7 separate regions of the Homo sapiens genome follow, and all the other regions are linked to region 7. Evidence: promoter capture Hi-C in 16 types of primary human blood cells and fetal thymus (Javierre and others, 2016). All regions are on one chromosome and are shown on one strand. The core of a region is centred on a gene start or on the middle of the fragment in contact, and the rest is flanking DNA. Distances in the headings are between cores, read along the strand shown.

The links. Contacts are between HindIII fragments. The CHiCAGO score rates a contact against its expected background, and 5 or more counts as called.
Region 1: a contact is called between a fragment that was not itself captured here and the fragment with the promoter of SNAPC1 in region 7, in 4 of 17 cell types (activated CD4 T cells, fetal thymus, total CD8 T cells and 1 more). The highest score is 7.7, in activated CD4 T cells.
Region 2: a contact is called between a fragment that was not itself captured here and the fragment with the promoter of SNAPC1 in region 7, in 2 of 17 cell types (total CD4 T cells and naive CD4 T cells). The highest score is 6.3, in total CD4 T cells.
Region 3: a contact is called between a fragment that was not itself captured here and the fragment with the promoter of SNAPC1 in region 7, in 1 of 17 cell types (non-activated CD4 T cells). The highest score is 6.9, in non-activated CD4 T cells.
Region 4: a fragment that was not itself captured here is called in contact with the fragment with the promoter of SNAPC1 in region 7 in 1 of 17 cell types (naive B cells); the score reaches 5.3 in naive B cells.
Region 5: a contact is called between a fragment that was not itself captured here and the fragment with the promoter of SNAPC1 in region 7, in 6 of 17 cell types (fetal thymus, activated CD4 T cells, non-activated CD4 T cells and 3 more). The highest score is 7.1, in fetal thymus.
Region 6: a contact is called between a fragment that was not itself captured here and the fragment with the promoter of SNAPC1 in region 7, in 1 of 17 cell types (total CD8 T cells). The highest score is 5.4, in total CD8 T cells.

Annotation. Positions count from the first base shown.
Region 1 is chr14:61,318,264-61,322,045 of GRCh38, forward strand. The region is part of intron 1 of PRKCH-AS1 (PRKCH antisense RNA 1); the gene reads right to left. PRKCH (protein kinase C eta) reads left to right here and starts at 3,316. Exons shown (of 14, transcript NM_006255.5): 1 at 3,316-3,782. RefSeq lists silencers at 188-482, 3,109-3,378, 3,529-3,698 and an enhancer at 3,660-3,782. The HindIII fragment of the contact is 823 bases long and covers 1,596-2,418 here.
Region 2 is chr14:61,409,536-61,412,840 of GRCh38, forward strand. The region is part of intron 2 of PRKCH (protein kinase C eta); the gene reads left to right. Among named protein-coding and RNA genes, the nearest start is that of PRKCH-AS1, 88 kb to the left of the region's middle. The HindIII fragment of the contact is 7,709 bases long and covers 1-3,305 here.
Region 3 is chr14:61,374,831-61,378,574 of GRCh38, forward strand. All of the region lies in intron 1 of PRKCH (protein kinase C eta), which reads left to right. Among named protein-coding and RNA genes, the nearest start is that of PRKCH-AS1, 54 kb to the left of the region's middle. The HindIII fragment of the contact is 2,848 bases long and covers 486-3,333 here.
Region 4 is chr14:62,122,246-62,125,729 of GRCh38, forward strand. It overlaps the pseudogene SERTAD4BP. Among named protein-coding and RNA genes, the nearest start is that of LINC00644, 16 kb to the right of the region's middle. The HindIII fragment of the contact is 4,947 bases long and covers 1-3,484 here.
Region 5 is chr14:61,345,179-61,348,770 of GRCh38, forward strand. All of the region lies in intron 1 of PRKCH (protein kinase C eta), which reads left to right. Among named protein-coding and RNA genes, the nearest start is that of PRKCH-AS1, 24 kb to the left of the region's middle. The HindIII fragment of the contact is 555 bases long and covers 994-1,548 here.
Region 6 is chr14:61,392,802-61,396,612 of GRCh38, forward strand. The region is part of intron 2 of PRKCH (protein kinase C eta); the gene reads left to right. Among named protein-coding and RNA genes, the nearest start is that of PRKCH-AS1, 72 kb to the left of the region's middle. The HindIII fragment of the contact is 3,111 bases long and covers 719-3,811 here.
Region 7 is chr14:61,760,810-61,764,369 of GRCh38, forward strand. SNAPC1 (small nuclear RNA activating complex polypeptide 1) reads left to right here and starts at 1,611. Exons shown (of 10, transcript NM_003082.4): 1 at 1,611-1,779. The coding sequence starts at 1,652. RefSeq lists enhancers at 1-349, 350-1,093, 937-1,026, 1,094-1,837, 1,838-2,581. The HindIII fragment of the contact is 7,963 bases long and covers 1-3,560 here.

The sequences.
Region 1 (3,782 bases), core at 757-3,256, 440 kb before region 7:
AGTCCTCACTTTGTTGCCCAGGCTGCTCTCTAGGCTCAAGTGATCCTCCTACCTTGGCTTCCCCTGTGAACACAGGCACGTGCCCTGGCTAGTTTTAAAAAGTTTTTTTTTTTTTTTTTTTGTAGAGATGAGAGTCTCCCTATGTCGCGCAGGGTGGTCTCAAACTCCTGGGCTTAAGCCATCCCCCCACCTTGTCCTCCCAAAGTGCTGGGATTACAGGCATGAGCCACCACACCTTGTCTCATGCCGTTTCTTAACTCCCTAATAGCTCCCTAGTCCACACAGTTGGCTCAAGCCAGATTCTGCAAGTCATCCTTGATACCGTCCTCTTCCTCATTCCCTTCAATCTGTCATCAAGACTTGTCAGTTCTACTTCTGAAACACTTCTTGAATTCATCTATTTATCTTCATCTCCATCACTACCACCTGAGTCCTGGCCACCATCTTCTCACCTCTGGACTTTGGCAACAGCTTCATAAACTGGTCTCCCCACACTCGTGCTGCTTCTTCCAATCCACCCCCGAGAGAGATATTTTATTTTACTAAAAAAATAAAATGGGACTACAGGCACATGCCACCACATCCAGCTAATTTTTTTAGTTTTTATTTTTTGTAGAGACAGTCTTGCCATGTTGCCAAGGCTGGTCTTGAACTCCTGGGCTCAAGCAGTACTCCTGCCTCAGCCTCCCAAAGTGTTGGGTTTATAGGTGTGAGCCACCTTGCCTGTCCCCAGAGAGGTATTTTAAAACACAAATCCTCATCTTACCCTGGCTCTGCTTAACAGCCTTCAGAGGCGTCCAGTGGCCCATAGATAATGTCCAAGGCTTTCCTGTGATCTACCAGTCTGGTCAGTGTGACCACCTTTGCAAGCTCATTTCAGCCACTCTCCCCTCACCTTCCTCAGCTCCAGCCACGCCTTCCTCAGCTCCAGCCACGTAGGGTGCTTTTGGTTCCCAAACAGGCCAACCCATCTGTCTCCTCAGGAGCTCTCAATGAGCTGATCTCTCTGCTATTTGCTTTTTCAAGGAACCCTTCCCTGACCACCCATCCAGTTATAATACATCACCCCTTGGCACCGTGGGCTTTTCCTTCACTGCACCCTCTTCTATTAGTTGTTTTTCCTCCTTGTGGGACTGTAAGCCCCAGGAGGGCAGGCACCATGGCTGTCTGACCCACTGCTCTGTCACCATTGCCAATCCTGATAGGTACTGATAGGGTGAAGATGGAGTGTCTGGTATCGTCATATCCCAGTCCCAGGACAGCTGTGTGGCCACCTACCATTTGGGGACTGTTTTCTTTTTAAAATTTAAAAAAAAATTTAAAGTCTACACCCCATGATTCTGTATGGGGACTGTTTTCTTTTAGCCCCAAAGTCCAACAGGAGCAAATCCTTTAGTGGCTCTTAAAGCTAGAGTTCAGCTGTTTGGAGGAAAGGGTGACAGAGCTGACCCACAGGGTAGATGCGACATCTTCCCCTGGAGCACTAAGGCCAAACAGGAGCCCCCTGGACGTTTGGGAGCAGGCTTTACAAGCCCTGCCTAAAGCTAAGATGTCATTAGAGTGATGCGTTGCATCCCTGCCTTGTTCTCTAAGGAAGCTTTGGTGTTTTCAAGACAGGCCCTTTCCCCCCTGGCCCATTGTCCTTACTTGTTTTCATTCTGTATAGTGCTGTTATTACGGGTCAGGCCTCCTTGCACTCATGTGAAATCGTTGAGAACCTACTCAATTAGAAAGTTCTGAACAGGGCCTTAGAGGAGTGGGGGCTAGAAAGATGAACCTGGGGCCAGGCACGGGGGCTCATGCCTGTAATCTTAACACTTTAGGAGGCAGGGGCTGGAAGATCACTTGAACCTGGGAGCTGGAGGTTATGGTAAGCCATGATCACACCGCTGTATTCCAGCCTGGATGACAAAGCAAAACCCAGTCTCTAAAACATAAAAGAAAGAAAGGAGGGAAGGAAGAAAGAAAGGAATGAAAGCAAGCCGAATCTGCTCCGAGGGAACCAGTATAGCAAGACAGAATGTAATCAAGTATCTTAAGAGTGGCCTAGGCTTGGCTGGGTGCTGTGGCTCACGCCTGTAATCTCAGCACTTTGGGAGGCCGAGGCAGGCGAATCACTTGAGGTCGGGAGTTTGAGACCAGCCTGACCAACATGGAGAAACCCTGTCTCTACTAAAAATACAAAATTAGCCGGGCGTGGTGGCGCATGCCTGTAATTCCAGCTACTCGGGAGGCTGGGGCAGGTGAATCGCTCGAACCTGGGAGGCGGAGGTTGCGGTGAGCCGAGATGGCGCCATTGCACTCCAGCCTGGGCAACAAAAGCGAAACTCCGTCTCAAAAACAACAACAACAACAACAACAAAAAGTGGCCTAGGCTTTTTGGGGAACAAATTGGTTGTGGCTGGCCCTCAGGGAGCAAGCTTTGCGGCATAGCAGCGTAGGCTAAAAGGTCCTCCCCGGAGACAAAATCTGCAGGGACCACGGGGTGGGAAGCATCAGAAGGCTGCCCACTCTGACTGCAAATACAACAAGCTGGAGTGTTCCTAGAAGAGGCAATTTCTTCCGCGTGTGTGTTGGGGACAGCCTGTGTGTGTGAACATTTTCTGCCCTTGCCGCGCAGAGCTGGGTGGACCAGAAACCACCCGCAGAGGAAGAGACTTATTACCTCTTGGCCATGTCTGTCTCCAGAAGAACCGACCTTTCCTGCTCTATGTGCAACAAGACACACCTTCCGAGGAAGGAGGCGAACAGGATTTCCATCATTACTACTGCCCTATTAAAACACACACATACACACAACTGTGTAATTAGCCTCTGCAGGAAAGGCGCACAAACAGGATGCGTTCGAGCTGACCCCGGGATGAGCCATCCCTGTAAATATTAGGAAAAAGAACCTCCCCGCCGTGCCCCCGCCTCCGGCCAGGGCCTCTTGGGGATGGCCCTGCAGGGTCACCAGCCCACCGGGGAGGTTGGGAGAGAGGGGGCGGGCGACTCCTCGCCGCGCGGGTTCCTGGCTGGAGCGCCCTCCTCTGCGTCCTCCCAACCTTCCATCGCTCCCCAGGTCAGTCTACCACGCCTCAGGTGTTTGCTCGGGCTGGGCCACGAACCCTTTCCTTTTTGGCCTGCGCCCGGGGTGGCCCCTAACCCGCAGCGCACGGCCAGACCCAGCGCTACAAGGAGGGCGCGCAGGGCGGCGCAAGCGGGCACTGGCCTCCCGGGGGCTTGCGCGGGGATCCACCCACCGCAGGGCCGGGCCGCGGACCGCGGGCCACGCCCCTGGGGTCCGGAAGGCGCGGGAGCGGACGCGGGGGTTCTGTGAACTTGGAACCTGGCGGTGCGAGGTTCTCGCCGGGGATGCGGCGGCGGCAGCTGCTTCCTGGTTTGAAGCTCGCCGAGTGGGGGAGAGCGTGAGCCTTCGGAGGCGGGGGCAGGAGGAGAAGCAAGAGGAGGCGGGGGAAGAGACGCTTGGGGCTGGGGCTCACCGGACGGGTAGGTCCGGCTCTCCAGGGAGAGGAGCTGCCCGGCCCTGGAGAAGGGGCGAGTCCTGCGCGAGTCCCCGGGAGGCGCCGCGCGCTTGGAAGGGACGGTCGGGCTTCCCCGGCCCGCTGAGGGCTCGGCGGCGGGCTCCCCTCCTTTCCACCTCGGGAGGGAGGGAAGGAGGGGAGGGAAAAGTCCCACGGAGGAGGCAGAATGGCCAGTCGAGGGGCGCTTAGGCGCTGCCTTTCCCCAGGGCTGCCTCGACTCCTGCACCTGTCCCGAGGGCTGGCCTGAGACGGGACTCC
Region 2 (3,305 bases), core at 518-3,017, 350 kb before region 7:
CCAAAAAAAGAAAAAAAAATCCAGGCATGGTGGTGTGCACCTGTATTCCCAGTTACTTGGGAGGCAAGAAGATTGCCTGAACCCAGAGGTTTGAGGCTGCAGTGAGCCATGATTGTGCCACTGTGCTCCAACCTGAGTAACATGAGTGACACAGTGAGACCCTGTCTCAAAAAAAAAAAAAAAAAAAAAAAAAGAGTTAATGTTTATAAGGTGTTTCTAGGTCCCAGGAAAAAGAAATGTTTTAAAAGTAGATTGTATATGCTACTTGTTATTAATTTCTTATCTCTAGAGATTGAATGGTAAGAGCCAGGGCCAGCATTGTACATTGTCAGGCAGCATTGCCCCTGTCGTCTGCCTTTTCCTCCTGTTACTAGGAGCTTGTTAGGTTTGGTCACCAGCCTGATGACCTGATCAAATGTTGCCTGTCAACTTGGAGTGACTGTGGTTGTTTATTTTGTTATTTATTCACCAATAAATTGAGTTGGTTCACTCTGTGTATTTTTACAGCATTTGGCCTTTTCCCAAATATTTGCCTTAGTTTATTAAATTAGCTTCTCAGTTATAAGTTAAAGTGTGTGTTGACTTTTATGATTTTAATTTTACAGGCTTGGTTGGCTTTGAATGACCAGATGGCATCTCTTGAGTCTGTGAGCAGGTTTTGTTTCACTTAGGACTTCACCCCCACCCCGTTCTTAAAAATGGTGATATGTTAAATCCACTTTAAATCTAGTATTTGATTATTAATTAAAATATCTCTTATGCATTTTGAAGGTAAAATTACAATTTTGTTCCATGTGAAATGGGAGCATGTGTTGACAAACCGTTGATTAACTTGAGTGGATTTGGGTTAATCTTTTTACTCTGCTCCATGCTGCCTGCCTGTAGGGTAATATAAATCCGTTGGGCTGTTGCTAGGCTCAGCTGCTTCTGAGTAGTTTGACAGGTTTCATCCTGTTAAAGGCTCTTTTTCTCTAGGCCCTAGATTCTAGGGGTATTGGGGTGATGCTGGTGAATGGAGTCTAACTGCGTATTTGCTTCTTGCTTCCAGCACCAATTGTGGCCAATGGAGTGAGGCAAAGAGCACTGGTGTGGCTAAATTACTCCTTCTGCAGTCCCCAGCATATTATTGGATGCTCTTTTTCCCTCTCCCAGAGCTTTCCTTATCTTCTAATTTCAAAGATAAGCGTTACCTGTAGGCAACGCACCCGACCTCTATCCCTGTTGTGGTAGCTACACATAAACATAGCCATCATGGCCAGGTCCCTTGGGTGGTCACATTTCCTACTGTTCTGATCACCTTCCACTATCAACACTGACCAGTGTGCCTGGCTAATTCCAAACCGTGCGAATGGCTGTGTTGCCTGGGCTCATGAAGCCTGTCAGGAAGAGCTGTGGACAGATGATTTTTGAAAATGAGGGTGATTGCAAAGGGACAGAAAGTATGAGACATCGTGGATGCTGTCTTTTCCTTAGGCCTTCAGTCATTTGAAGTCAGGACTTCCAAGCCTGGATATCCAGTGGGCTTCTGGGGAAAGTGGATCAGAGCTCAGCAAGGATTGAGCCCCAGCGACTTCCAACAAACCATCCCATCCAACAGAGGCTGTCTTCACTATGCAGACCTTTGAGCCACCTCAGAAGACACCAGCCTTCATGCTCATCCTTTACACGTCTCTTTGGTTCATGTACCAGTCCCTTGTCCTCCTCGGTGACCAAGATAGGAATGGTGTCAACGGATGATTATGGCATGACATAGAGTAACTCTTTGCATAAAAGAGTGGACAGGGCAGGCACTTAACACTTGAGGACCCCTGTTCCAGTCAGCCACAGATGTATTTATTAGGCCTTAAACTGATGGGATGGTTCTTGGATTTTTCAGTTTAAAACCTATAGGGGGACTTTACTTTTGGCCAAATGCTGAAACAAGTATTGGATTTATCTTCCCATGTGAAAAACAAAATATGGACAAAATAAATGAAACAATGATTTGTAAGACACTGGATACATCAGACAACAAAGGCCAATGATTCCTGAGAGATAGGAAACAAATGAGGTGAGACCTCTGAGTTTTTTCAAACTGCCTTAAAAGAGTTTCCAAGCTATAGCACAGGAAAAGGGAACCATGTGGAGCCCAGCAGACTCCCTGAGTTGAGGATTGGATCTGAGAGTCCAGAGAGACTAAGGCCACTAGAGATCATGGGATACAGTACTAGAGAAGAGACAGCTGCACCAAGACATAACTCTGGAGGTGTACAAAGTTCTGAGAACTGATCAGTGTAAAGAAGCTGCCTGAGTCTGGGGAAAGCACCATTCAAAAGGAGCAAAGATAACTGTTTCTGGTGCTCACACGGGGCCAGAAATAGTGCTTCTGCCACCAACCAGACTGGAAAACTTCAAGAGTCATGGAGCATTGGGTAGAGTAGAGTACATAGAAGGGCCTTGCTTGCTTAGTGGGGAATAACTAACCCAACTGAGCATGGCTTTAAATCTAAAAAGCAAGATCTGATAGGGCCGAACTATTTCTGAGTAACTTAGCTGTGTCCCAGATCAAAGCTGATTTTATAGAAATACAAAACTATCACTCAATAGGCAAAAACCAGTGTCTGGCATCCAACCAAAAATTACCAGATGTACAAAGAAGCAAGAAAGTACAACCCATAATGGGAGCAAATCAACCAATCAAAACTGACCCAGAATTAACGCAGATGTTACAATTAGCAGATAAGGACATTAAAATGGTTATTATAACTATATTCCATATGTTAAGCAGAAACATACTTGTCTTTAAAAAGACAAGTAGAAAAGTGAAAATGGAGAAAATAAACAAAAAGACCCCAATTGGATTTGAAACATGGGTTGCTTTTCTATGACTCCATCCTTATGTTACTTCAACCGAACCCATATGACCTGAACCTGGCCCCTGCTAATTTATCTGAACCATAAGCTCCTACTTATCTTCTCAGTGCTCTCTCTAGCCAGGACTGTGGGGTCATCCCTGCAGTGCTAACTCAGTGATGCCCAGGGGTCACTTGACCCTTTAATCTTCCTTCATGCCTGCTGTGCCAATGCCTGACCTGAGCAATCATCTCACAGATGATTGGATGTTGCTGGCTGGACCCATGGCATATAAATTTTTGGCATTAAGCAGATACTTAGCAAAAACGGAAGCATTCTTCTTGTGTTGGTTTCTCAGCAATTCTAAAACTTTTACACCTGAAAGCCCCTTCCCACTTTTTTTCCCACTCATATTCTCTTTCTCTTACTCTGCTGAAAAAATCCTGCAAGATCTGCCATCTTTATGTGCCTGC
Region 3 (3,744 bases), core at 660-3,159, 390 kb before region 7:
CTTCCCATTATCTTGCCTATTAACATTTGGCTCCTTGTTGCTGATGCAAATTCCTGCAGCTGGCTTGAATTTCTCCCCAGAAAATGGGTTTTTCTTTTCTACTGCATGGTTGTACTGCAAATTTTCCAAACTTGTATGCTGTGCTTCCCTTTTAAATGTAAGTTCCAATTTCACACCATCCCTTTCTTCACTCATATGAGTGTACACTTTGAGAAACAGCCAGGCCACATCTTGAATGCTTTGCTGGTGAGGAATTTCTACTGCCAGTTACCCTAAATTATCTCTCTCAAGTTTAGAGTTCCACAGATCTCTAGGGCAGGGCCAAATGCCACCAGTCTCTTTGCTAAAACATAGGAAGAGTGACCTTTACTCCAGTCCAGTAAGTTCCTCAGTCTCCATCTGAGACCACCTCAGCTTGGACTTCATTGTCCATATCGCTATCAGCATTTTGGTCTCAACCATTGAACAAATACTAGGAAGTTACAAGCTTTCCCATATCTCCCTGTCTTCTGAGCCCTCCAAACTGTTCCAACCTCTACCTGTTACCCATTTCCAAAGTTGCTACCATACTTTTCAGATATCTTTATAGCAGTACCCCACTCTTGGTACCAATTTTCTGTATTAGTCTATTCTCACACTGTTATACAGAACTACGTGAGACTGGGTAATTCATGAAGAAAATAGGTTTAATTGACTCAGATTTCTGCAGGCTGTACAACAGCATGGCTAGGAGGTGAGGGGGAAGCAAGCACGTCTTATCATGGCAGAGCAGAGAGAGAGAGAGTGAAGGGGGAAGTGCCACACACTTTCAAACAACCAGATCTCGTGAGAACTCACTGACTATCATGAGAACAGCAAAGGGGAAGTCTGCCTCCATGATTCAGTCACCTCCCAGCAGGCCCCTTCCCCAACATGACTGGATTACAATTCGAGATGAGATTTAGGTGTGAACACAGAGCCAAACCATACCACGGGCAAAAATTGATTTTATAAGAAGTGAGAGAATGAGACAGGTGAATATTTTGAAGGCTTGTGTGGCAAATATTCATTAGCCAGGTTTATTAAAAACTCAGCTACTTGGGAGGCTGAGGCAGGAGAATCACTTGAACCCGGGAGGTAGAGGTTGCAGTGAGCCAAGATCATGCCACTGCACTCCAGCCTGGGCAACAAGAGTGAAATTCTGTCTCAAAAAAAAAAAAAAAAAGCTCATAAATACATTAAGATTTTATTCACAGTGTGGTGGGTGTGGTACTCAAGGCCTTTAATGGGATTTTAATAATCCAAACCTAATTCAGTCTCCAGATGACTGTGCAATATAATGGAGATAATGCTGCTTTACTTTTCCTTACTCAGAAGGTGGTTGTGAAGGTCTGCTCAGGGTAGCCAGCGTGCCTTTCCCAACACCCTTCTTTCTGTTTTGCTGGTTCTGCTTTCTCTCATTCTCTAAACATGGCTTTGGTCCTTGATTCTTTGCTCTTTGAACTGTACAATTGTTCCTTGAGGGTCAGTCAGCTGTCTTGTGGTTCAGTTATTCCTGTGTGGATGACTCTACCTGCAGCCCAGCCCTTTATTTTAAGTTTCAGGTCCCATTTATCTTTTTGTCACACATTTCTAATCTCCCTACAAATCAGTATTTTTAAAAACCAGAGTCATCCCAAACCAACTGACCCTCTAGATTGCCTTACTTCTTGCAGATTTAGTCTTACCGTCTTCCAGATACTACAGCTGCCTTTGGGCTTTTCATCATCCCTTATCCTTAGCCACCAAGTCCTGCTGAGCTTCTTTTGTAATACTTCTCTCCTGCCTCCTCCACTGCACACTTGTACCACTGAGACAGTCTCTTAATTCTGCCCAGCACCTCCAGCCCCATCTACACCCCTCTAGTTTGTCCTCCAGCATGTTGTTTTAGGACTGTTGCTAGCCTAATTATTTGAAATGAAATTTCAGTTCTTAACTTGGCATCCAAACCTTTCGTCCATTGCATTTCTAGCTTTACCTTCTAATTTCTAGCTTTACCTTCTAATTCACTTAAATGAGATACAATTTAATTAAACCATGTATTCCTTGCAGCTTCTGTGCTGTTTTCCACATCTGTCTCTTTCCCCATGTTGGCAGGGTAAATTTTAGAGGTGTAATGAAATTTGCAGGTGGAAGTTATGGGGATATAGATTGTCTTTAGCTTAATGTAAGGATGACCTTTCCAACAGAATTGCTAATGATGGGGTGGGTATCATGGAAGAAGTCTACCTGTCATCTCCCAGGTCATCTACTGTCATCTCCCCTTTAAAGACCTCATCTTCCATATCTGCACATTTGGCTTCTCCTCTCTTTTGAAGCTGCTTGTTTCCATGTCCCATGATGCTAAACTTGGGGACTCCTCCCACCTCTCAGATTGTATTTTCTCTGGTTCTTTCTTTCACTCCTTTAGTGAATTTGCTTTTTCTTTTCTTCTTTTCCTGTGCTCTTTCTTGAAAAATTTCACTGCTCTTAGACTTAGTGTTTACCTTTTGAGAAAAATTCCCAAATGATAACCCCAGCCGTATGTTTAACTACATGATTTGTCTTTATTTCCAACATCTTGCCAGATATTTCTATTTGAGTACTTTTGTGTCCAAATTTAAACTCATTTCTTTCCCTTTAAAACATGTTCTTTCCCTGAGTTCCCTGGCTGATTAGTGGCAACAGAGATGGGCAGATCTTTCTGTAAAGGGCCAGAGAGTAATATTTTTGTCTTCATGGGCCATAAGGTCTCAATCACAGCTACTCATCTTGTAGATAATATGTAACTAAAGGGTTGTGACTGTGTTTCAGTAAAACTTTACTTATCAAAATAGGCAGCAGCTGGCATTGGCCTTTGGGCTGCTGTTTGCTGACCCTGATCTAGGATACCCAGGCCCCAAACTCCATACTCCTTTGGCCTTTCCACTGCTTTTGTTTGCTCTCTTCACATGATTATTAATTTTCACTGATTTCACCCTTAGCAAACCATTCATACTTCTAGACCATAGCTGTCTGTCTATTCATTCATCTAGTAGACAAAATCTTCCTTTTACATGTTAATCTCTATCATTTTACATAATCAAAAACCTCTAGTGGCTCCCCTTGGCCTGCAATCTAAGGTTACAGTTCTCTGGGTGTAGCTCTTTCTGTGTTTTGCCTCCAGCCTTCTCTCTTACTCCTGTATGGACATTCCTCCAATGACACTGATCAAGTGTGTGTTCTGATATTAGTTCTATCACTTCTCACAGGTTGCTCCTGACTCAGAATGGTCTCACTTCCCACTAATTGAAACTTGCCTTCAGGCCTCAATTCAGGGTCTCACTTCCCAGGTAAAGCTTCGCCCTAGCCCAGTGATTGCTCCTCTCCTAGGGCTTTTTTTTTCTTTTTCTTTTTCTTTTTTTTTTTTTGAGACAGCATCTCTCTCTGTCACTTAGGCTGGAATGAAGTGGTGTGATCACTGCAGCCTCCAACTCCAGGGCTCAGGTGATCCTCCTGTTTCAGCCTCCCAAGTAGCTGGGATTACAAGCATGTACCACCACATCTGGCTAATTTTTTTTATAGAGATGGGGTCTTATTTTGTTGCTTAGGCTGTTCTGGAGCTCTGGCCTCAAGTGATCTTCCTATCTTGGCCTCCCAAAATACTGAGATTACAGATGTGAGCCGCCACACCCAGCACTGAATAGTGCTTTTGATGTTGCCACTGACCTATTCAGTTGAGACCGCATTGGGTTGTAATTTGTGGTG
Region 4 (3,484 bases), core at 236-2,735, 360 kb after region 7:
AATCAAAAAGTTTACCCAAGAAGCCTCCTGCACTTCGCCTCTAAATTTCTGTCATTAGCAGGGCCAGATCACGGCAGCAACTGGCTTTAGTGCAGCATCTAAGGAAACCTAATGGTGTTCTGTTTGGTTCAGAGACCATTACCATTGGAGCAGGATAGGCTTGTGGAACTGGTGGGGTTTTCTTTACTATTCCATGCCTGTGCTTGGGGTTATCCCAAGGGACATGGATGCAATCTAGTACCAGACAATGCTGCTGGTATCTTGAGAAACTCTTCTAAGTCATTGGCTCTCAGTATTCCTGGAAGTTCCTAAGAAAGTCTGCTCGAGCTGGAACTTGTTAGTAATTCTAAATTGCCAGTAAAGTCAATATTGTGCTTGGGGTGGATAAATCTGAAGAAACAGATTGCTCCATTGATTTGGAGATAAAACCTGACACTGAGTTCTGCTACCATAAAGGATATTATCCAGAAAGGTGATAGGCAAGGGGGTTATGAGAGAGAAGAAAGATGGCTGATGGAAAATTGTTAAACATCAACAGAGCCAAAGGTCTCCAGAAGGCACAGCATCATAGCCTTGAACTTTGCACCCATCTACCTTCTTGAATACACTCATGAATGCTTCATGCAGCCCATGCTTAGCACTAAAGAGAGGACCAATGTCCTAGGTATAATATAATGCTGCTGAGCAGGATATGTACTTATGATTTCAAAATGAAGTCACTGCAATAATAATACGTAACATTTACTGAGCAGGAAATATGAGCACATGTGACAGGCACTGAGTAACTGCTTTTTAAACATCATCTCTTCTAATTCCAGTAAAACTCAATGAGTTTGGTATTGTCCCCCCGTTTAACAGATAAAGAAAAGTTAGGCTCTTTGAGTTTAAATATCTTGGCCAAAGTCAGTAAGCAAATAAACTGTAGAGCTGGTATTTGAACTAGTGCCGTTGGACAGAACTAGAAGGTTATGCTGAAGTATTTCAAGCCATGCAGTGAGACTGCAGAATGTGGTTAGCAGGGACAGATGGGGTAACTCTTTCTAATCAACTGTGGTCATGGCCCTTAAGGAAATATCTCCAGTAGCTTTGTCACCAGCAAATCATTATTTAGCTAGATAGGGACAATTGCACTTTTAAAGGCTCATGCCAGGCTAACATGTTACAAAGAAAAATCAGTAAGACATTGTGAAGCTGAGGTGCCTGATTTATCTATAACACAAGTCAGTTGTTGATCTGAGATGGAACCCACCTTCTTTCTTGTCATTGATCAGCCTCCACCCCTTCTGTCTGTGGGTAGGATGCACACATCTAATAGGATGGTTTCAACTCTGTTTTTGGAATGTTTTGATTTAAATGTTGTGGGGGGAAAAATGAAAGCCAAACTAAAATTAGGATATATTGAACTGATCACTTCTTCACCATGTCTCCAGCTTTGAGTCTTGACAAAGAATGGATTGCTTTGACAGGAGTTGTTCTTTTTACTGTGGTCTGTTATCTCAAAGTGTTTGTAAATTAATTTGCTGATGATGTTTCCTTAATGTACTGTCTCCAGACCATGTACCAAATGAAATCACTTACACCGTAATAGGATTTCAGTTTTCTGGAGGCAGAAGCAGAGCAATGAGGAAGAGCATTTGAGCAATCATTTGTAATTACATTTTAAACATTTATTTAAAGAATTATATAAAAATTATATTGCTAGAACTCTAATGACAGGGATGGTCACTCTGTTCTGTAACTTTTAATTTGTTGGTTATTTATGTTTTATACTACCAAATACACTGAGCTTGGCACAGATATTTTATGGGCCCAGAGGATATAGCATTAGAAACAGCTTGAATATTCAAGCCATCATTAGCCATTTCACTTTCAGAGACAAATTTAGGCTCAGCCTAATTCAGTTTTGTAATTTACATACTGTTCTCAGAGCTCAGAACACTCAGAATGTGAAGACATAAAGTCATTTCATTTTTTTTCTTGTCTATTTCGTCATCTTTATTTGAATAATAGGCTGGGTTAAGTTTGGCCTTTTAGTTGCAGGAGAACTATAACCGATTTACACATGTTTACTGAATCATAACAACCAAACTTCTTTGGATAGTCAGATCAACTTTAATTAATTATCCAGATGATTACCTGTATGTTTCAAAAATAGTTTACACCTCCTTCACCCAAAATGCATGACCAGTGGCAATACACCAGAAATATTTGGAGTTGTTATAGAATCTGTACTACGTTTTTTCAACTTGATCATTTGCAATATCTTCTTGCAGTTTTTTTTAACTGTCTAATTACAATCTAGTATCTTTGGGAGGCAGGGTGGTGGAGTCTTTGAGTCAGAGCTAGGAGGCCAGGCTGGGCTCTGCTTCTATGTGGTAGATTTGTGACTAATGGCACAAATAAGGTCTACAATTTGATTGAGTGTTTACTATATGCTAGGCACAGTGCCAGTCACTTTCCATGAATTATTTCAATGATCTTATGAGCCAGTGTTATTTCTATCCTTACTTTACAAATGAGATTTCTAGAGAGTTTATGTAATTTGCTCAAAGTCACTCAAATAAGAAGCAGCAGAGCTGGAATTCAGACCACTTCCATCTGACTTCAAAACCCAAACTCATAGCCACGTGCCAGAATGTAAATTATTGAACTCGTCTGGGCTGTAGTTTTCTCATCTGGACACTGAGGAGGCTGAATCAGGTGATGGATACATAGTTATCAGCTCCGAATGTTTTGAGTTCTAATCCAGCCAAGCAAACAGATGTAGGAACTTATGTTTGCTATATATTTTAACCTAAAAGTGGCTAGAACCATCCTCCAAAATTGATACTGAAAACATTTTAAATAGCTAAACAGCTTTCAGGGAGATAATTGTCAAACTGATACCAGCTGTGAAGGCTTTTCAGCATTTTAACAACCCATGTGGGTATTTTTTAAGAGCAATAAACTAAATGGCTAAGTGTGTTGCCCACGGAGGAGCTGAGACTCAAATCTAGAACTCCTGGGAATTTTCTCTGTATTTTCAGGATCTGATACATTCAGTATATTAGGCTAATTGGTTGATGATAGCCAGACAGTCTTTATGAACCTTGGAATCATTTGATATGATTTTTTTGGTCTTGATCTGTCAAATAAAAATATCTTTCCTGGAGGTACACTTGGGATCCAGAACTATAAGTTTATTTGTCATTTGGTTCTCTAATCTGCCACCTGCCTTCCCTTGTATTACTCATTAAAAGATTCTTAATTGGTCATAAATGCTGTAGATATTGCATTACATTGGAAGATAAAATGAGCAGACATTTTAAAAAGATACATATAAGAAAGTCATGTTTGCTCATGATGAAGTTACTCATCTCATTTTCTAGCCTTTTCTCACTGTCACCTACACTATAGTAATTCATTAGAGCTTGTTAAAAAAATTAGAGACCTGCCCAGCTATCATGCTAATAATAGCCATTGATGCTTCTCAATGTGAACCCAG
Region 5 (3,592 bases), core at 21-2,520, 420 kb before region 7:
CACTTTCTGGGAGGACAGTGTCTTACCAGGATCTTCTGTCACTGTGGTCCCTTTGAGGGTAGAAAGAATAGATTGTTGTGAAGTCTTTTGTCAGCCTCTTCATGGTTATAAACGTACTTAGTTTTCCAGACTATGTAGGTTTTAGACTTCAAGTGAAAAGAGTATACGTTGTTATGCAGCAATAGAAAACAAAACAACTACCACAAAATTGTATTTTTTCTCCATCCAGAGGCTTTAACTTTCAACATTTGTATATGGAGGCAAGGCTGACAGCCACAGCAGTAATTTCATGATGGCTGAAATAGCTGTGAACTGTGCATTAACTTGTTCCTTCTCTCTTAAATTCTGCTGCAGTGTTGGAGCAGGGAAGGCGAGCAGAGGAGTGATGAATAGAGTAGCAAGTGGGATAATATACAATAATAGGAGATACACAATAAGGATTAATTAGGTGTCAGGCTAAGTATTTCATGTGCATTAACTAATTTAATCCTCAGAATACCTTCAAGATATTCAGATTCTCTTATTATCCTCCTCTTTGGGAGGCAACTGAGGCTCAGAGAGGTTAAGATACTTGCCCCAAATAAGTGGTGAAGGCTGGGCACGGTGGCCCAGCACTTTGGGAGGCCAAGGCAGGAGGATTGCTTGAGCCCAGGAGTTTGAGACCAGCCTGGACAACATAGCAAGACCCTGTCTCTCTTTTTTTTTTTTTAAAGTTGTGGAGCTAGAGTTTGAGCACCTGCATGGAACCACTAAGCTGCATTACACCTGCCTCAGGTGGTTGATATGAAGAAAAGTAAAAATTTTTCAGATGGACTCTGGGTATTTGCCTTTTAAGGCTATATGCCTTTTAATTCTGATGTAAAGTGGTAGAGAAATGATTAAAGGTTTAAGAGTTGATAGGGCCCTGGGTAGCAGGGACACTTTACATGTGTTGTGTGTGCATCTGCAGCAGATGACAGCTCCCCAAATGGACATGCCTCCCTTGTTCAAGAAAGCTTGTCAGGGTGGCACCAATTTTTTTTTAGCAATTTAATGAATGAGGTATCAAATGATCACATAATACAAATTTGATTGATCTCCTTTTGGATATATCTCCCCTTAAACATTGTGCTGGCTACACTATCCATTTCTATAATACCTTTGATTTTATCCTCTTTACTCCTAACAGTGAATTCCTAGGTAAAGTCACAACTGAATTTATCAGCACAAGCATGCTGCATCATGTTGTACGTTCTGCAAACAGTAACTTGAGATAGTGTGTCATTTCCCAGTTCTTAAGGCTGTGGCCTACACCAATGGTCTTATTTTCCCTTTTGATTTTTTCAAAATTAACTGTTATTTTGCCAATAAGTTTAACATTTCATTGGAGCAATTATTACGTGTCTGGGGTTATGCAACACATGGGATGTGCAGAAATAAAAAGATAGTTTCCCTGCCCTCAAGGAGCTTGTCTTATAGGGGAAACAGATACATAAACACTTCTAGGGCACACAGATTTTCATGTATGTGTGTACTATGGTGTTAATGCAGAATTCTGTAAAGGAATAAAGCTTCCATGATCAAAGCAAGCATGGGCAAATGCTTCACATCTTTCTGCCTGTGTTTTGCGAGCCCATTCTGTTTAATGTGGACTTGATTTAAAGTCGACCTGCAGTCCTGGACTTCAACCAAACAGCCATTATAGTAATGAACATTTAAAGGAGTTATTTTTCCAAAGCATTATAGTTTTTCACATCCATCTTTTCATTCCCTCATTAGCTAATGATGTTGATGTCCTCACAAGCATTGTTTAGGAATGGCTTAGGAATTTTACCGTATGTTTACTTTGGCTTGTCTGCTGCCCCTTGCTTTGTAATCTGTTCACCGGTGATTCAGTTGTTTCTTTGAGTCCCTTTGAAATTGCAAGTTGACGGGTGGGGACTGGTGGGGAAAGAAATCCAGAATAGATATTCCTAAAACTGTGAAGTGAAAATTCAGGAGAGACTGTCATAACTCTGCTTATTTAAGGTGGTTTGGTTTGTGCCAAGCTAAAGGAGGGAATATTGATTGAATTACTTTTTTAAAATGCAATTAATTTTTATTTAATTGTTTTCCCTGGAGTTGTGGGGTTGAGGTATTGCAGTTTAAAGCAGTTTGGATGTGCTGATAATTTTTTTCTGATTATCTTCAAGTCTCCATGGACAGTGTCACTGCAGGTCTATTCATGCTTTCGTTCCTCCTTTACCTGCCTTCATCTGCTTTCTCTGGGCATTGGTACCCATACCCAGGTGTGGTCAGTTGGAGTAACTCCTGCCTTGCTGGGCTTAACTGTGGTGTTTCTGGGCCTAAGGCAATTGGAACATCTGTAGTTTATTTCCTAATCCCAATTTTGTGGAGGTTTGTGTTCTAGCTTTGATTCAATTACTCCTAAGTAGTGGCCCGTATTAAGTAGAGGCTGTGTGAGACAAGACACTTAATGTAGGCCCCTTGGAGCTGCTGGGTCCTTTTCATCAGAATTTGGCTAATGATGCCTCTCTCTTTTTTACACACTAAAGCCTAATATAACTAGTAATGAACCTCATTAATAATTTGTATTGGCAGATGTGAGGTGTCACACATTAAAACTGTTTTACACCATGAGCATTGACTTCATTCGGTCAGTGAGGGAGGATGCAACCACCTTTGCCAAAATAGGAAGGAAGAGAAGACCCAGAGTTTTCAGGGAACGGAATTAAATAGCACTTTAACAAGCTTGGCGGAGGCAGTGGGGTGAGGAGAGGAAGTTAATAGGCCCAGGGAGGAGAGTATCTCACTGGTTTCTCCAAGCTGATTCTTCTGGGTGCCAAGAGAGCTGTGGAAACCCACAGAGGAATGCCCCGGTTCCTTTCCTTCCTTCTTTCTGGTAAGGGTTTAGATCTATTTATTTGATGGTCAGCCTTCCAGTTTTATCAGCACCGGTCTCTTTGTACAACTTCCCAAATGTACAAACTCCAGACAGATGAGTACAGTTGGTGTTTTCCGGGGAGGGTGTTGCTCCCTGTGGTCTGTCACAGCCAGAGAGCAGGGGGCCAGAGAGAGGACTGATTGCCCATATGTTCCACATGAGTCGTCAGTGGTGCACCCAGTTTTAAAATGCTCTGGGGGTGTGTGGCCATGAAGTGGATTTTGAATGAATAGAAGGAAAAAGCTCGTGGATGAAAACCATGAGCCATTTGAACCGTGTGTGGTGTCTGGAAAAACAGGTGGTCTGGCAAAACTGACAAAGTTTGCTTGGGGAAACAGAAGCTTTGCCTCCACCTCTGATGCTTGGGCTGGGATGAAATAAGCCACTTTTCTGTTTAGACTGTGTTTAGATGGAGGGAAGCTTCTTCAGTTCTTTATTGGGTGCAGTGAATGGCAGAACTTTTATTACTTGCATTCTTAATTTTAGTTAGCCATGCTGAGCTGGGTTTACACCCACCTTGGTATGTAATTTCTGTGACCTGTTCCGCTTCCTTCTCTCCTGTCACAGTCACCAAAAGCCACTATGGGTAGCCATTTGTTAATATCACCTTTATTAGGAGTCCTCCAGGCTCAGTTAAGGTCTCCCTCCATCTTTCCACCCCCACTATTT
Region 6 (3,811 bases), core at 1,024-3,523, 370 kb before region 7:
TCTGTCATAGGATCACTAAGATATTCTCCTGTTTCTTTTTTTGTTTTTTTTTTTTAAGAAGCAAATAGTTTTAGGTTTTATGTTTAGGTCTGTATGCCTTCTTAAATTGATATTTGTGTGTGATGTTACAGAGGAGTTGAAACATTTTTTTTCAATACACGAATGCAGTTGTTCTAGCACCATTTATTAAAAGTCTCCCCTGGCCCCTTGAATCACCCTGGAACCTTTGTTGAAAATCAATTGACCATATAATGTGGGTCTGTTTCTGGATTATCTGTTCTGTCCTGTTGATCTGTTTGTCCATCTGATCTCTCTTTCTTTTCTCTACATTATGCCAGTATTACACTGTCTCATTACTGTTGCTTTATAGTGAGTCTTATGGTTACATAGTATGAGCCCTCCAACTCCGTTCTTTTTTGTATGTTTAAGGTTATTTTAGCTATTCTCAGTATTTTGCAATTTGATATCAGTTTTAGAGTCAGCTTATATATTTCCAGACAAAATCCTGCTGTATTTTGAATTGAAATTGTGTTGGATCTATAGATCAGTTTGAGGGGAATTAACATCTTAACAATCTTGAGTATCTTTAAACCCATCTGTAGTCAAATTAGTCAATTCTGTAGTCCGTGGACATGGTCTTTGCTCGTAAGGCATAGCCAGTGTGAGGTTTCAGTAGAAATCCCAAGGTGTTTTAAGCCCATTAATTTTATGTCACTCAAGCTTCTAACTCTTTCTCCTATGGGTGGGAAACAGCTGAAATCTCAGTTCCTATCTTTCAGCATCCTAGCTCTTGCTCCTGTCTGGACCTCTTAGAGTTTCCCTTGCACATGCACAGTTTAGGAAGATGTGAGGGCTTGAAGAGTTTACATATGTGGAGGTTCTTCTTTCTGTGGCCCCATCTTTCCAGGTTTTCTCCCCTCAATATCCAGTCATCTGGTAGGCTTGAATTTTGTCAATTCTGCCTTCAAGCCAATAAAACTGTGGTTCCATATTGAGTTCTATTTACCCAATCCTGCACAACCTGGGGAATAATCTGGAGAAAAGCCCTACAAATGTGGGTCTCACCTAATGCGGTTTCCCTCCTTCACGTGTCAGATTCTCTCTAGTTTGTATGTGTTTTTGGTTGTTCTCTCACATCATCAACTAGTTGTTTAAAATATATTTTCCAGGTATTTTAATCTTTTGGTGGGAGGGTTGGTCCATATCAAGCTACTTCACCATTACTAAAACCTCATGAAGATTTTTAAGCATGTGGCTTAATTGTTTGTATTTTTGGTATTGGCATTTTGCAAAATTGGTTACACTTTCTTTGAGAAATAGTTTTCTCCACTCCTTTCAGCCAACCATTCCCATTCATATGGGTGAATTGTTTTAATGTTAAAGTTTTTCAATATATCGTCTGCATTATTAAATCTTGTCTTTTTGCACAAACCTGGATTTAGCAGAAACCTAGAATACTTGACATAAAAAAAAAAACTGTTCAGGTTACAATTTGGGGGGGTGTTCTGCCTGCTCCAAGGTCTTTTTGCTTTGCTTGGTATCTTTTATGTACAGAGAAAAATGAGTCTGTTCCTAGCCTAGTCAAATAAAATCAATGTAGTATTATGGAACATTGTTGATAAAACATTCTCATCATGCACGTAGAACATGGATCAGCTATGGTAGAAAGAAACACAACAGTGAGAAAGAGGTCAGGAGGAGGAGTGGGTAAGATTCTCTCTCATTCGAGCTGAATCAACTCTCTGCATTAAGTTACAAGGGACTGGCGAAGTAAAGCAATGCATGTTAGACCAGGTCTGATTGTGCCATAATCATTACATGACTTTTTTAGAGCCATGCCAACTCTCTAGGACTAAATGCTCACCAAATACATCTGATTGTTCTCATTGTATTTATTTCTTAGTTTCAGTGATAATAAGAATGAAATGGTAAGTCATACTAGAGGTGAGTTCTTACTAGGTCATTGCAGTTGTGTCTTTCAGAGCTGACCCTGGGTAAAATTGTGAGATGAGTTGAGTTTATCTTTGGTAATTCCATCTTTGCTTTAAGCTAGTCCTTTGTCTCTGCCTACAGTTGTCCCTTACTGCAGCAAGAAGCCCAGTGGTCCCTGTCCAGAAAGAGTTGCTGATAAGGAAAACAGTTAATTCATAGGCTAATTCACACTACAGTGATAGAGATTGATGTCATAGTACTCTATTCCTCTTAGGTGTGTTTGCATATTTTAAAAGATGCTGGAAGAGCTGCTTTATCCATGAGAAATAGACTTTTAATGCTAAAATTTTAATATTGAAATCTACGGGTGGGGTATATTTTAGGAACCCCATATCTGTTCTCTGTGTCTCTGTGCGTGCATTGCTTTTTCATTTTGGCTCCTAGACTGGGGCTCAGCTTGAGCTTGCACGTTGCTGCTGCCTTTAAAACACCGCTCCCTTGTCACATGCAGAGGACGTGATGGCTGCCTGTCTGTGTTAAGTAAGAAGGAAATGGAGCCCCCCCCCGCATTTGCCTGCCACAGCTGTGGCAGCAACCTGGACCTGGCACTGAGAGCATGTCCCTAGCTTGACCTCGCTCCTGGAAGCCACCTTAGATTATGTCCAGCCATAATATGACAGGTTGGCTGGTGCAACATTTGGAGCTCTAGTTCCCATCTTGGATACTGAAAGCCTTCATGGAAAAGCAGTGTAAGGTCAGGCCTGCCCAGTGTGTTTTGGACTGTGAAAAGGGCATTGTCCTAGGATCCTGGAGGCACTGTCAAAGCTCAGGAAATGTTGGCTGATCCTCAGTCTGTCTCACATGGTTGTCTTGAAGGTCAGATGATATAATATATGGGGAAGTGCTTTGCAAACTATAAAGTACTATATGAAGGTATGTTAGTGGGATTTTCATTTCCATGTTCCTATTGTCACAGCAAGGAGATCCCAGTCATTTCCCCTACCCCTGCCCTGGGACCATCTTGTATACTCAGCAGGTTCGTTTTATCTTAACATTGACTTTATGGCCAGGCGTGGTGTCTCACACCTGTAATCCCAGCACTTTGGGAGGCTGAGGCAGGCAGATTGCTTGAGCTCAGGAGTTTGAGACCGGCCTGGGCAACATGGTGAAACACCATCTCTACAAAAAATACAAAAATTAACCAGGTGTGGTGGTGCACACTTGTAGTCTCAGCTACTTGGGAGGCTGAGGTGGGAGGATTGCCTGAGCCTGGGAAGTGGAGGTTGCAGTGAGCTGAGATAGTGCCACTGCACTCCAGCTTGGGTGACAGAGTGAAACCTTGTTTCAGAAAAAAAAAAAAAAAAAGAAAAGAAAAGACTTTATTTTATACAAGAAGCCTCAAGAATTTCATGGACAGTGGCTAGCATAATGTTGGCTTATCTCCATGCCTGTTTTCATGATCTCCTATGCGGGTTCTGCCATAAGCTCAGATTCTATAATCTCAAAGCACTCCTTTAAAAAAAATTACTTAAATTGGACGGTGGTCTGTGATATACAAGGCTGGTATTGGGGCTACTGACTGCTACTTACCTCATTTTTTAATTTTTCATTAATTATACTGAATTAGCTCAGGCAAAACTATTTTGTTAAATGTAAGACATGATTGAGAAGTGACATAAGAAAAACCTGCTGGGTGCAGACCTGTAATCACATCATAGATGCTGGAGAGATAAAGATGAACGAGACATAGACACTCTCACAGGAGCTCATAGGAGGGAAGGCAGATACATATTATGTATGCAATGCAGGGAGCCAGGTCCCATGGCAGGAATAAGCCCAGTGCATAGTGTTGGCACATGGGACTACATAATCAATTTGG
Region 7 (3,560 bases), core at 361-2,860:
CCTCAGCCTCCCGAGTAGCTGGGACTACAGGTGTGCACCACCATGCCCGGCTAATTTTCACCATGTTTCCCAGGCTGGTCTCCAACTCTTGTGCTTAAGCAATCCTCTTGCTTTTGTCTCCCAAAGTGTTGGGATTTCAGGCGTGAGCCACCGTGCCCAACCAGTAGCTGTGATTAAAGTAGGGTACAGTCAAAGGAATAGGTCAGAGGAGGAAATCGCAGATTGATGTGAAGGCGTTGGTAATGTTCTGGTTCCTACACAGGTGAAAGGTGTACAGGTGTTTAACTGCTATGCTTTTTATCTCACACATCGCATAAATTTTTCTGTGACATAAAATATTACATAACATTTAAAAAACAGGTCAAGAGGGCAGGGTGCAGTGGCTCACGTCTGTAATCCCAACACTTTGGGAGGCCGAGGGGAGCGGATCACCTGAGGTTAGCAGTTCGAGACCAGCCTGGCCAACATGGTGAAACCCTGTCTCTACTAAAAATACAAACAAAACAAAACAAAACAAAATCCGGTTGGAGTGGTGCATGCCTGTAATCCCAGCTACTCGGGAGGCTGAGGCAGGAGAATCGCTTGAACTCGGGAGGCGGAAGTTGCAGTGAACCGAGACCGCGCCACTGAACTCCGGCCTGGGCAACAAGAGCGAAACTCCGTCTCAAAACAAAAAACAAACAAATCCAAACAAACAAACAAACAAACAAAAACAGGTCAAGGATCAGAAAAGTAAAGTGAGTTGACACTCCATTTACACACAGAAAGCCCAATGTTTTTCTATTATATCAGGATACCTCTTCTAAAGAATGATAGCTTACCTTTCAATCAGAGAAATGATCTAAAGTTCAAAATGTTACTCCATAGCTAGCTCCTGGAGGAAGGAAGCTAGGTGGCAGCGTGTACACAAAAAGGCAATTCATCCAAATAATAATATAACAAGAATATAACAAGTAGGTATTTTCTGCTAAGTGCTATGTAGCACAGGGGTGAATGCGTGGCAGGGCAGGAGGAGGGCTGTTTACAAGAGGGTATGAAATGCAGCTCTTCTTTTCAAGAGTGGTTGCAGAATGCCAGGGCTACAAAGAGAGGGCCGCACATTAAGCATCGTATTATGTGGGTACAGAGTATTAGGGTTCTCGATGACCAGAAGGAGAATGAGTGCAGTTTGTTTCCTAGCAAGCCTTCTTTAGCTTCTCTTCCCAAGTGGGAGTGGGGTTGGGGTTGGGACTGTTCTTTCCTAGCTCAAAAGTTCACTTATGTCACACTAGGGTCAGTTTAAAGGAGAGTGCTAGTAAGGGTAAAGTCAAGTTACATAACCTAGCGGAAAATGAAGACCTAAAACCGCTCGTGAGCAAACACAACACTTTAGACGTAAACCTCTTCCAAAGAAGGGTGGATCTCAGCACTCTGGGTGAAAGCAATCTCAGCCAGTAAAACATCAGAACGCTTTCACGCACGCGCAGTAAGCACACGACCGGTGGCAAGAGCCCGGATAAAGGCGGAGCTAAAGGTGCCGGATAATGCATCACGGAGCGCGTGTGCGCACGCCGTAGGGGGCGGGCCGTTCGGGCTTGGTTTCCTGGGCGACCACCGCTGGCTAGTCCGTTAGAGGCGTGCGGGCTTCGGAGGCGTGCGGGCTTCGGGTGCCATGGGGACTCCTCCCGGCCTGCAGACCGACTGCGAGGCGCTGCTCAGCCGCTTCCAGGAGACGGACAGTGTACGCTTCGAGGACTTCACGGAGCTCTGGAGAAACATGAAGTTCGGGACTATCTTCTGGTGGGTGTTTCTTGTCCACCACCCGCCTCTCCCTGCCCGCAGGTGGTGTAGAAAGTTGCCTCCTTCCCGGCGATATTGCACTTGTGAAGGGCTGAGAAGAGCGGCAGTCACCGAAGGTTGCCTCCATGACTCCTGGACCTTCCCCTGTGCTCAGGCAACGCGCTTTCCCTGCTCTATTTCATTGTGCCCTGATGGTTGTTGCGGCCTCCTCCCAAATATGCGTCTCTGCCTGGCCTCCCTTCTAAACTCCTCTCTCCCATCTCCACCCTGAGCCAGGCCACTATCATTTGCCCTTCCCCAGTCTTGTTCTAGGACCTGATGTTTAAAAACACACAAGCAAAGACAAAACCCTTCAAGATTGAATTAATTTTTCCTCCAACAACCAAAGTTGTCTTTTTTTTTTTTTTTTTTTTTTTTTTTGAGACGGAGTCTCCTTTTGTCGCCCAGGCTGGAGTGCAATGGCGCGTTCGCGGCTCAGTGCAACCCTTCGCCTCTCAGGTTCAAGTGATTCTCTTGCCTCAACCTCCGGAGTAGCTGGGATTACAGGTGCCCGGCACCACGCCCGGTTAATTTTTTGTATTTTTAGTAGAGACGGGGTTTTACTATGTTGGCCAGACTGGCCTCGAACTCCTGATCTCGTGACCCGCCCGCCTCGGCCTCCCAAAGCGCTAGGATTACAGGAGTGAGCCACCGCGCCCGGCCCAAAAGTTGTTTTTCAAAAGTGCAAATTTGATTATGTCACTCCCCGACTTATTACTCTGTAGTGGTGCCCATTGCCTTTGGGATAACGCTTGAATTCTCTGACTTGCCAAGACCATTCCTCACTGGCCTTTGCCTATCTCTCCAGCTTCGCCTGCCAGTCCCCTCCATGCACTCACTTTCTTGCTCCAGCAGCTGCTTTTTTTTTTTTTTTTTTTTCTTTGGGCCCTCTACAGGCTTTTCCTAATCCTGGAGTTTCCACCGCAACTCTCTTGTTTTGTCCACCTTATTCTTCACTCAGGGTTAAGCTCAAATGACATCCTCGGGGGAAGTCTTTTTTGCTCTTCTAGACTGAGTACGCTGTTCATGTTTTTTCCCCGCATAGCACCCTGTTTTTATTTTATGTCACCGCTTTCCACATTTTGTTGTAATGGTATAGTTGAAAAGGCAGTGTGGGATTGTTAAGGGCATAGGTTATGGAACCCAATTGGCTGCATTTGATTGCAGGGTCCGCTATGACTTGGGGCAAGTTACTTGAGTTTCCATATCTGTAAAATAGAGGCAATGATAAACCTCATAGTAGTTGTGAAGATTAAATGAGCTGATATATCAGAAATACATTCTAAGTGCTCAATAAATGTTCATTATTATTATTTTTTTTTCTTGAGACATAGTCTTGCTCTGTCACCCAGGCTGGAGTGTAATGGTGCGATCTCCTATCACTGCAACCTCCACCTCCCGGGTTCAAGAGATTCTCCTGCCTCAGCCTCCCGAGTAGCTGGGACTACGGCTTGTGCCACCAAGCCTGGCTAATTTTTGTATTTTTAGTAGAGACGGGATTTCACCATGTTGGCCAGGCTGGTCAAATGTTCATTATTACTACCGTTTTAAAATTTTCCTTTGACTAGACTGACCTCTGTGAGGACAGTGACTGGATGAATCTATTTTTATTACCATAGTACATATAATATTAAAAAGGCGAAATAACTGATTTTCTGAATGAGTTAAACCTTATGATTAAAACTTTTTCTGAACAAAATGTAAAAACTCATTTTCTCTCTGTCAGTGTAAGCAAATTACCT